Linked DNA regions of Homo sapiens: region 1 is linked to region 2. Evidence: promoter capture Hi-C in 16 types of primary human blood cells and fetal thymus (Javierre and others, 2016). All regions are on one chromosome and are shown on one strand. The core of a region is centred on a gene start or on the middle of the fragment in contact, and the rest is flanking DNA. Distances in the headings are between cores, read along the strand shown.

Region 1 (4,770 bases), core at 1,653-4,152, 510 kb before region 2:
AAAAACGGTGCCATAAATAACAATTCCAGGCTGTCAGCATGGAGTGATCACTGCTCCCACCCTCCCGGTTCTACTCTTATTCTAAAGGCCAAAAAAGTTCTGAGAGTATTTATGTTCTATTCAGATTAACTAATTGAGATTTTGGCCTTTTTCTCTAGTTGCCTGTTCCTTTACTCAAAATTAATTTGTTACAAGGCACAGTGAGTTAATTAGTATGATTAGCTCCGTTATCTTCATGCTTGCATTTTTAAGGACTTTAAAGTCAAGGTACTGTTTCACAGATGATTATTTGCAGACAGTTAATTCTTGAGTTATTGTCTTGGGATGGCCGTTATCATATTAGCATGCCTTTTACATTTCTTGATTTTTAAAGAAACATCTCATTTTTATATTCCATTTTAGAACTTTCATTGTCAGTAAATATTACCAATGAGCTTCCGTTCTGTCAACAACATTTTCGTGTCACGTATTTTCAAAATATGAGATTTCAAATTCCAAAATGATTTGTTTCTATAAGTTTAGGGAAGTGGTGGTAGTAAGCATTTCATTAATAAAGTTGTTATAATGAGTACTCAATGTGTATTCAAAGTGTACCTGTTGATAATTTGAAGCAGAACAAAAGAGGGGGAAAAGAAAAAGAATGTACCACTAGGTGCCACTCTGATCTTAAAGCTTGAACCAATGAATGACAATTGCAACAATGACAGTGGTGGTGACATCAATAGACACTTTATGATAAAATGGAGGTAGTTTTTGTGACTATAATATTCTAAATTTAGGACATGAAATTTTAAGCTTGATGAGGATTTTGTCTGAAAATGACTTTTTTCAGATGCTTTGCAAATACTTTGTATTAGTTGATATTACTAAATCATTTATGAAATTAGCAAATGTGGAAGTATTGCTGACTTTTATAAAGGAGAAAGGTGTGGTTTGATGATCCTAGGATAGAGAGTCATCAATTTAGCATTGATATCAACTTTCACTATCATAGTAATAAAGCTATTGAACTATTCTTCTCTGGCTTGGTTATCCAGAAGAGATATCTCTTTCTCAGGAGTGTCATAAAAGACACTTGGTTAAAGTGTGAATAGTGTTCTGATTACAGTAATTGTTAAATATTATTATGTAAAGCGAGGTAATGATAGTAAAAATAAATGAAATGCATGAATGAAGCAGTTACCTGGTGATCAAACTACAAATAAAACATCAGTCCTATGTGGTGATTAAAAATTCTCTCTTCATAGAATATTTCCAAATAAAGAAGTCAAAGACAGTTTTCCTGAATTGTTGATATTTGACTTTCAATACAGTTACTGGTTCACAAAAAACCACTTAATTACCAGACTAATCTAATTGACCTAGGATAGCAGTGAGAGAGCTGTAAGGGGCTCTCTCTTCTTCACCTAGAAGACTTTACTGAACAAAGTCTAGGAGATCCTTGAAATTGTTAGCAAAGCATAAAGATATATACATATGTGTAGGTTCAGCAATATACATGTATCTCATTGGAACTTCAAAGACACTCATCAAAAAAGGGTTATATCCACTCTTCTAGGGTATTTGATAGTGGCAATGGCTAACATCACATCCAAGGGCTTGGTTGAAGGTAAAAATCAGTGCGAACGAACATCAAAAGCAACTTTCAGTGGGAAAAGTAACAAAGTGTCAACCTGAGGTCTCAACAGGAACTTTGGTTGTCATATGTAAAGCAATAAAGGCATTCCTTAGGACAACCTATACACATATGAGGGCCAAGAATTTTTTGTTTGTTTAGGTTTTTAAGCTCTGTTTTAAAAATCACATCTTCCCTCAAGTGCTGCAAACATAAAATCATTCCTGTCCTTTTACTCTCAAAATTGTGGTCCCTTTCTCTCTACCTTTCCCGAAACCAAAGGCCTGTGTGTGACCTTTGAACGAACTCACCCAACCTAGCAAAGTCATGATGCATTATTCCATGATGGGTGGGCCAGTGGGAGGGCTACCATTACAGAATACTTTCTCTTGGACTAGAAAGGTTTCCTAGGAGAATGAAGACAGAAGTTAAGTATATTGAAGAACTGGCAGAATTCATGCACTCAGTTAAAATGAAGAGACACTGCCTCCTGGAGGCCTGTATTGGGATAGCCGTGGTACAGTGTGAGGAAATGAGTAGTTTACACTCCCAGCCTAGATGGAATCAAAGCTTATTCCAGCCATGGCTGAGAGTGTGTCTGGAGACATAGCTAACAGAGAATTTATATTTTCTGACTGACAGTGAAAAATGAATGTTTTCACACCGTGGTAACTAAAATTTGGGGCAGTCATCTTTATTCACATTTGAATAAAACACCGATTCATGACAGGCTTCAGGTTGCTTAGTCAATCAGTTACGCGGCCAAAACTGCTGCGTCTGAGTCTCTTCCTCTCTGCTGGGCAGTTCCTTTTGGTTGTTTTTATTAGGTCTCAGTGTTACCTCTCGTGTGTTTTTCTTCTGTTATGTGCTCCAACAGGACAGAATTATTAGATCTGTACTGTCTTTGTAACCTAATTATTTTCCTGTCTCACATACTGCATTGATATATCCAGGTTTCCAAACATATGTATAGTTACAATTACACTGTGAATTTAAACTACTTAAGTCATATTATTTTAATCTACCAAAGATTTGAAATATTAATAACAACAGCACATGAAGATTATATTTTGGATTCTAATTTAAGAGAGTATACCTGTGATGGTTAATACTGAGTGTCAACTTGATTGAATTGAAGGATTCAATCATGGATTAAATTATTGATCCTGGGTGTGTCTGTGAGGGTGTTGCCAAAGGAGATTAACATTTGAGTCAGTGGGCCGAGAAAGGCAGACCCACCCTTAATCTGGGTGGGCACAATCTAATTAGCTGCCAGCACAGCTAGAATATAAGCAGGCAGAAAAATCTGAAAAGAGAGACTGGCCTAGCCTCCCAGCCTACATCTTTCTCCCAGGCTGGGTGCTTCCTGTCCTCAAACATCGAACTCCAAGTTCTTCAGTTTGGGAACTCAGACTGGCTCTTTTTGCTCCTCAGCCCACAGACGGCCTATTGTGAGACCTTGTGATCATGTGAATTAATACTTAATAAACTCCCCTTTATATATATGTCTATTCCATTAATTTTGTCCCTGTAGAGAACCCTAATATAGTACCCACTTAGACTATTAAATAATTAGTCATCTTAAGGAAAAGAAAATAGCAACACATACTTAAATTGCATTGTACTGTTCTAAGCACTTCACATATATTTATTGATTTTTATCACCATAACAGACCTTATGAAAGAGATACTATGCAATAATATAATTTATATATAATCTGATCTTATTCTAAAAAAAGAGAAGCAAATACCTAGACATGTATTTGGAAATAGTACCTTTAGTTTGGGCTGCTGTGTTTCTTATCTGGAGTCTTGACTTAAGGCCCCTGGATTTGCAACTGTCAGCTAACAGCTGACAACTCTCACCTGGTATGTCAGTCAGATCCAGAAAATAACAATAATTTGCAAATAGCTCTTTAAAAACTCAGGCTTTTAGGACACAAAATTCCTCACCTGGAATGGCATTTGTCTGATGAGTAAGGAGAGATGACTTGAGAAGCTTAATGAGAAAAAATGTGTTGAGTCCAAAAGTAAATATAATAAGTTCTCAAAGAAAAATCAACCTTGTAGTAAATGGTCTTAGAAATGTCTAATGTGCATCACAGGATAACCTGTTTAAAAAATGTGACATATGCAATGGATTCCCAAAAGGTTTGTATGCACATATGGAGAGAGAATGGCCATATGGGATGAAGAGGGAGGGGATGTAGGTAGTGAAGGCTCGGACTCAGGAGGCTAACAGTGTCAGAGAACTACTTGTATAGCACTTGTAGGCTAATTGTTGGGTGGGAGAGGCAGAGAATGCAAGGAACTCAACACAGTATTTGGTATAGTAACAGGCCCTGTATGCTCGAGCTACAGTGTTGATCATTACATTCAATTAGTCAGAATCTTTTTAAGTAAGGTATCTACTTTACCATTTTTTAAAGATGTGAAGAAATCAGAGCATGAACTGAGACAGAAACACAATATTTATTCATCAATTCATTTGTTCAACCTACTTTTTGCCACACATTTTGTTTGGCATTGAAGATACAACAATAAACCCTTATGAGGCTTATATATGGAGTTCATGGAGTTGCCATGAACTGAGATTAAAAAACTGTAGGAGGAGGTTTGGTTTGGAGTGAGGAGAAGAGTAGACCTCAGTTTTGAAGATGCTTAGTTTGAGGTTTTTTGTTTTTTTTTTTTGAGTTGGAGTCTCACTCTGCTGCCCAGGCTGGAATGCAGTGGCACGATCTCGGCTCACTGCAACCTCCGCCTCCTGGGTTCAAGTGATTCTCCTGCCTCAGCCTCCAAAATAGCTGGGACTATAGGCATACGCCACCATGCCCAGATAACTTTTGTATTTTTTAGTTAGAGACAAGGTTTTACCATATTGGCCAGGCTGGTCTTGAACTCCTGACCTCAGGTGATCCACCTGCCTCAATCTGCCAAAGTGTTAGGATTACAGGCATGAGCCACAGTACCCGGCCAGTTTGAGGTTTTAGATATCTAAGTGAAGATGCTGAGCAGAGAGTTAGGTAATGAAAAAAAGAGTTTAGTGAGAAGCCTAGGCAGGAGATACACATTTGGGAGTTTTGGTAATCACTAGTGTCATTCACCAAATATTTCCATTTCACCTTCTAATATGGTTTTATGTTAGAATTGTATTT
Region 2 (5,541 bases), core at 3,005-5,504:
CCAGGAGTTCAGGACTTTCCACTGTGCATGGAGAGGAGGATAACCCACATTATCATTTATGTATTATCCTAATAAGACAAACAAGAGACTATAGTAAGAAAAGTATGAAAAATCTCCAAACTTCACTCAACACAATCAAAAATAGAAAAGCTAGAGGAAAGGATGAGATAAGAGGGCCCAGCATTGAGGAGAGGCGTTGAGATGGCCAGGGAGTGGGGCAAGAGCTTGCCCCTACTTCCACTTCCATGCCCGCCCCCAGGGTCCCAAAGAAAAGACCTGGGGCTAGGCAAGCAGAGAAAAGGAAAGCAGAGACACATTTTCCAACACGACAAATAAATTAATAAATATATATGTTAAACAAGAAAATAACTTCTTAGGCACCGCTTGAAAGGCAGCAACCCTCTAGAGACCAGGCAGGCCCCACTCGGGAGCCTGCAGGTTGCGGCGACACCGCCAACACTGGCGGACTCTGAAGACGTCGCCCTAGGTCCCCCGCCCCTGGCGCCCGGTCTTTTGAGATACACTGGAGCAGGAAACCTTATCTATTGTTACTTTTAGGTCGGCTCCTCCGGAAACTTGGGTGAGGGAGAAAGCCAAGGCGGGCTGCAGCCCTGCAACCGAACCCCGAACCCCGAACCCCGGGGAAGGTGTGCCCTGCACTACCCTGCCCTGCCTAACGCAGACGCGCGGCCCGGGAGCGCCCAGCGCTTGGTCTTTGAAAACGCGCAGTAGGAGGGTGATTCCTATTACGCGCCCACACTCCGACCCCGCAATCTTATAAAAACTCCTCATTCGGCTTGTTCTCAGCTCCTTCTTTGCTCCAAAGGAGGGCTTGGGTGGGAACTCCAGAAAGCCTGGAGTTCGAAGCGCGGGACCTATTTTACTAAGCACCTGGCTCTACTCTGGGTGGAGTGAGAGTGGTGGTGGCGGGCGGGCGGCGAGAGGGGGACAGGGGAGGGCAGGGAAAGATGCACCTTCACCCAAGAGTAGGAGAAAAGACCAGCTGCTTAGATCTTTCTCAAGTCCAACTTTCCTTAAGGTAGGGCTGCGCAAAGGGAGAGCGGTCATTCCCGGGACTCCAGTAGGGGCACCAGACAGAACCTGGACAGCGGCCCCGCGCGGCTAGGGACTAACGCCGAGGGAAACCCGTGGCGGTATCCGTGGCTCAGCTTAAACAAACAGAAATAACGACTGGAGGGGCTGAGGATCAGAATGAGTTGTTAATGAGTTCGTGATCTGCACTGGCGGGACGGTGCGGAAGAAAGGATAGAAGTTGCAGGGTAGGGAAAATAGAAGGAGGGTCAGAGGAGTAAGCGCAGTGGAGGAAGGAACAGAAAGTGGGAGACCCAGAAAAAGGTAGCCTGAAAGCCTTCCCAGTTTATAAGCAAAGCTCTCACTTCTACCATTGTCGCGCGCCTTTCTTGGGTTCCTCCATCAAAGGCTGTCAGTGTCCTAGCCCCACGTTATCCCGACAGCACCCTGGCGCCCTGGATACCGTCCCTTTCGCACCCGGCCTTCCCTTCTCATTCTCCCCCTCTTTTGGCTCAGGGCCCCTGCGTGGCCCGGGCTCAGAGCCCCTGCGTGGCCCGGGCTCAGAGCGTCGTGATCCGGGACGTGCAGGTGCCATTACGGAAGACGCCGCCGGACTCCAGGTTCTCAGGTTGGAAGTCTTCCACACTGTAGGCACGGCTCTTGAGCGCGGTGGCGTAATAGTCAACCGGCTCCTCCGCGGCGTTGTCCATCCAGCTGAGGCATAGGATGCGTTGGAAAGAGCGCTTGAAGTTGTCTGAGAGAAAGCCATAGAGGATGGGGTTGGCGCAGCTGTTGGCATAGCCGAGGATGACCGACAGCTGACTCACCGTGGCGTCGTCCTGCTCAGCAAACACGTTGACCAGCTGCACCACGTAGAAAGGCATCCAGCAGATGACAAACACCATCACCACCATCATCACCATTAAGGTGATCTTGCGCTCCGAGCGCTTGCGCTGCTGCCAGCCGGCCTTGAGGGCCACCATGCGCATCTTAGCAATGATGAGCACGTAGCACAGGCAGATAGCCCCCACGGGCAGCAGGAAGCCCATGAGAAATGTGTACAACACGAAGCCCACCAGCCAGCGTTGAGCGGGCTCTGGCATGAGCATGTTGCAAGCCACCGTGCCGTCGCTGTTGGCCGCGGTGCGAGAGAAGACCACGATGGGCAGGATGACGAGCAGCGATAGCACCCACACGCCCAGGTTTACTACCTTGGCCACGGTGGGCCGGCGGTAGCGGGCCGCCTTGATGGGATGCACCACGGCCACGTAGCGGTCCACGCTGAGCACAGTCAGACAGTAGATGCTGGTGAACATGTTGACCGCGTCCACGCTGAGCACGAGGCGGCAGAGCAGCGCACCGAAGGGCCAGTGGCGCAACAACGTGGAGGTGACTAGGAAGGGCACGCTGAGCATGAGCAGCTCATCAGCAATGGCCAGATTTAGGATGTAGATGTTGGTGGCCGTCTTCATCTTGGCATAGCGCAGGATCACGTAGATGACCATAGAGTTCCCACACAGCCCCACCAGGCACACCACGGAGTAGATGAAAGAGATCAGGATGGCGCTGCCCTGGCCCTCGCTCAAGGTCCCGTTCTGGGACGCATTTCGCCCTGGCTCCTCCATGCCGTCCGCAGCGCCGGCCCCGGGGCCCCTGCTGCCGCCGCCTTCGCCGCAGCTGCCCGGGCTGGGGCTAGGAGAGGAGGAAGGAGAGGAGGCGGTGCCATTGGGGAACATCCCAGCTGAGGGGGGCCAGTGGGGCTGCCAGGGCTGGGGCTTTCTCCTCGCGCACCCGCCGCCTGCGCCCTCCCTCCCCACCCGACCGCTTGCCTGCAGCCCACAGCCGCCCAGCGCCTCCGGGTAGAGCGCAACCGCTGCGGGGAGCGCGGCTCCTACCGGCGCCGGCGGGGCGCACAGCCCAGCGGTTGCCTGGGCTCTGCAGTTTGCAGCTCCGGGGTGCCCGGGCACAGGCGACCGTGGAGAGGAGAGGCCAGGATGTGGGAGCACCGCACGGCACAGCCATTAACTGGCGCGGCTCTGGACTGGTAAATGATTAATAGGCACCACCAGCGCGTCAGCAGCTACGAAAAAAGGGGGTGGGGTGGAGAAAGGGAGGAGAGCACATAGGTGGCTTGTCCCCCCCGCCCCCCATTTTTTTCCTTCCCAGTCCTGCACTCTGCTCAACTTTAGTGGCTCCTTCCGGGGTTCCCTCGCAGCACCATCTGCCTCTTGCTCTCAGAGGAACCAAGAGAGTTCCTCGGCCTTACTGGAGGGCGGGTGGGAACCAAAGGTATAGATTCTGTCTCATTCCACTCCTCTCCTACCCAAAGCAAAGACTCAAACGGATCCATGAACATGGATGTCTGGAGTTCATCTCAGTTTCCCTCCATTGCTGCCCTTTTCTCTGGAGACCCCAGCTTCTCTCCCGTCCCGCAGTCCAGAACCCTAAATTCCCTCTTCCCACCCTCGCTTGCCTTGCAGCTCAGACCCGCCAGGGAAGTTCCGGGCCCTCCTTACCCAAAGTGCGCAACCTCCAGACTGAGACGTAGATGGTCGGTGCAAAGTGCATGTGCGGTCTGTTAGCAGGTTGACGATCTTCGCGCAGACCAACTCCCTTCTTTGCGCCTGGCCCCAGCACAGGTGCCCACGCAATTACTCTTAGAATCGCGGAAACTGGCCCTAAGCTGCGAGCGTTATGAGAAGAAAGGACAACCACCGTGCGTTAGGGGCTTCTGCGCTATAACACAGCAGGCAGCTTAGGCTATTGGGAGTGTTCAGGGACCTGAGTGAACCATTCGCAAATCTCTTAATAAAGCTCGTAGCGCTCAGAGCCCCCCGTGTCTCCCACAGGAATATCGACTGCAGAAACGAGGACGCGCAGCTGGGAGCTCTGGAGGAGCTTGAGACTCCCTCCAGAAACGTGCCAGGCGCGGTGTTGGGAATCCACCTAGGTGTTCACTCGGGAAAGATAAGGCTGCGCCGCTTGGAAGGGCTCCACCCGCGTCCCTGCTGTACTTTGTACCCTGGAGAGTTGGCGGGTTCTGGCAGACGAGAGTTTAAAGGCTTGGGCGGGCGGGGACGCCAGCTCTTCTAAATCCAGGTGAGGAGCTGCCGCCGTGCGATGACCAGACCTGTCACCAACCCCAGGAACGGCAGGGCGACATTCGAGTTTTTCCGGGAAGAGCTAGGATGTCAGCTCTTTCTGAGGCTTGATTTGTGAGCTGGCTCTGGGTCACGTGCCCAAACCATTAGGAGATATCAATGTAGGCAAGCCTGAAGCTCACTGACTTCATTTAAGAATCAAAACGGTTTTCCCGTAAGAAAGAATGTATGTTCCGTTATCAGGATTTTAAACGAACCCTGGGACTTACCACCATTCTTACTCTAGGGTCTCTTTGGCTTTCCAACTGTTCCTGTGGAAGGAAGAATCACACTCCATGCAACTTCCCTGTTCCTTTTCATAAACGTTGCTTTGCTCGGTAAGATCCCTGCAAGCCTTTATTTGAAACTAGCCTGTTCACAGGAAGAGTGACCCGCAGCAGCTTAGTGCTCTGCCTCCTTCAAGCTTTGCTGTCTCCAGTTTTTCCTTAGTTTCTCCTTCTCCTCAACCAGGCTGTGCCCGCTGTACTGTAAGTCTCAGTTTTCCTCCTCTCAGTAGAGTTTACTCCAAGGAGAGGCTAAACTCCTCATGGAGGCTATCTGTACCGGTCCAGAATGAAGAAATGGATGCAGAAATTAAAAACAAAAAAGTATATTTCCTAATGCCCTGTTGCTTTATCCAGGTAATCACTTACATATACTGCATGTGTTTTAGTTCCCAAAACTAATTGTCTTGAACAGGAAAGAATAACTTCTGTAGTGTGTTGATGATAGCAATCAAAGACTAAAATAAATGACAGACTTTCATAGGAATGTGTGCAATTATTAATGAGGAATGTGCTAGGATGGAATTTGAAATTTCATACGGCTGAAACTGTTTTAACCCATTATTTTACCTGAACAAATTGCCTTCTTTAAAGTGGAATGTACAATTGGTGTTTAGTTATATTTATTTTTCCTTTACAAATACAGCACATATGGAGAGAAAATAAATGTTCATTAAGTTAAAAGAAAAGAGAGTGGGTATTGTCCCAGAATCCCAGAAGAGCATTTTACTAGCCAAGCCTCATATAATGCCTTAGATGCCTCTGCCAATCACTGACTAAAGACACCTGACTATCTGTACCTCTGGGAGCTTGGATTTCAACAGTCATTATTTAGATGCCTTGGCTTTGATCATGGTTGCTCTTTGGGAAGTGTGTGATGGGAGTCAGTGAAAAACAGCTCTGTTGTTCAGAATTTCATTAAATTCACTTTCAGCTCATCTTAGGGAAAATTTCTCTCAATTTTGTGGCCTCATATACAAAAGAAGAAAACTTAAGACCTGACGTGAGAATGCTTTTTATTTTTATTTTTTTGAGATGCCACTTTTCACCCACTAGGATGGCTATAAGAACATTTTTAAAAACAA

What was found. The method cuts DNA at HindIII sites, captures the fragments that hold promoters and counts their contacts. A CHiCAGO score of 5 or more calls a contact.
Region 1: a fragment that was not itself captured here is called in contact with the fragment with the promoter of SSTR1 in region 2 in 1 of 17 cell types (endothelial precursors); the score reaches 6.3 in endothelial precursors.

What each region holds. Positions count from the first base shown.
Region 1 is chr14:38,719,367-38,724,136 of GRCh38, reverse strand. No RefSeq gene overlaps it. Among named protein-coding and RNA genes, the nearest start is that of LINC00639, 200 kb to the left of the region's middle. The HindIII fragment of the contact is 1,429 bases long and covers 2,188-3,616 here.
Region 2 is chr14:38,206,617-38,212,157 of GRCh38, reverse strand. SSTR1 (somatostatin receptor 1) reads right to left here and starts at 4,254. Exons shown (of 3, transcript NM_001049.3): 1 at 4,054-4,254; 2 at 3,549-3,715; 3 at 1-3,112. The coding sequence starts at 2,768. The coding sequence ends at 1,593. It overlaps LOC124903303 (a long non-coding RNA gene), which reads left to right and starts at 2,871. Exons shown (of 2, transcript XR_007064117.1): 1 at 2,871-3,076; 2 at 3,882-4,943. RefSeq lists enhancers at 1,401-2,103, 2,104-2,807, 3,791-4,452. The HindIII fragment of the contact is 9,392 bases long and covers 1-4,598 here.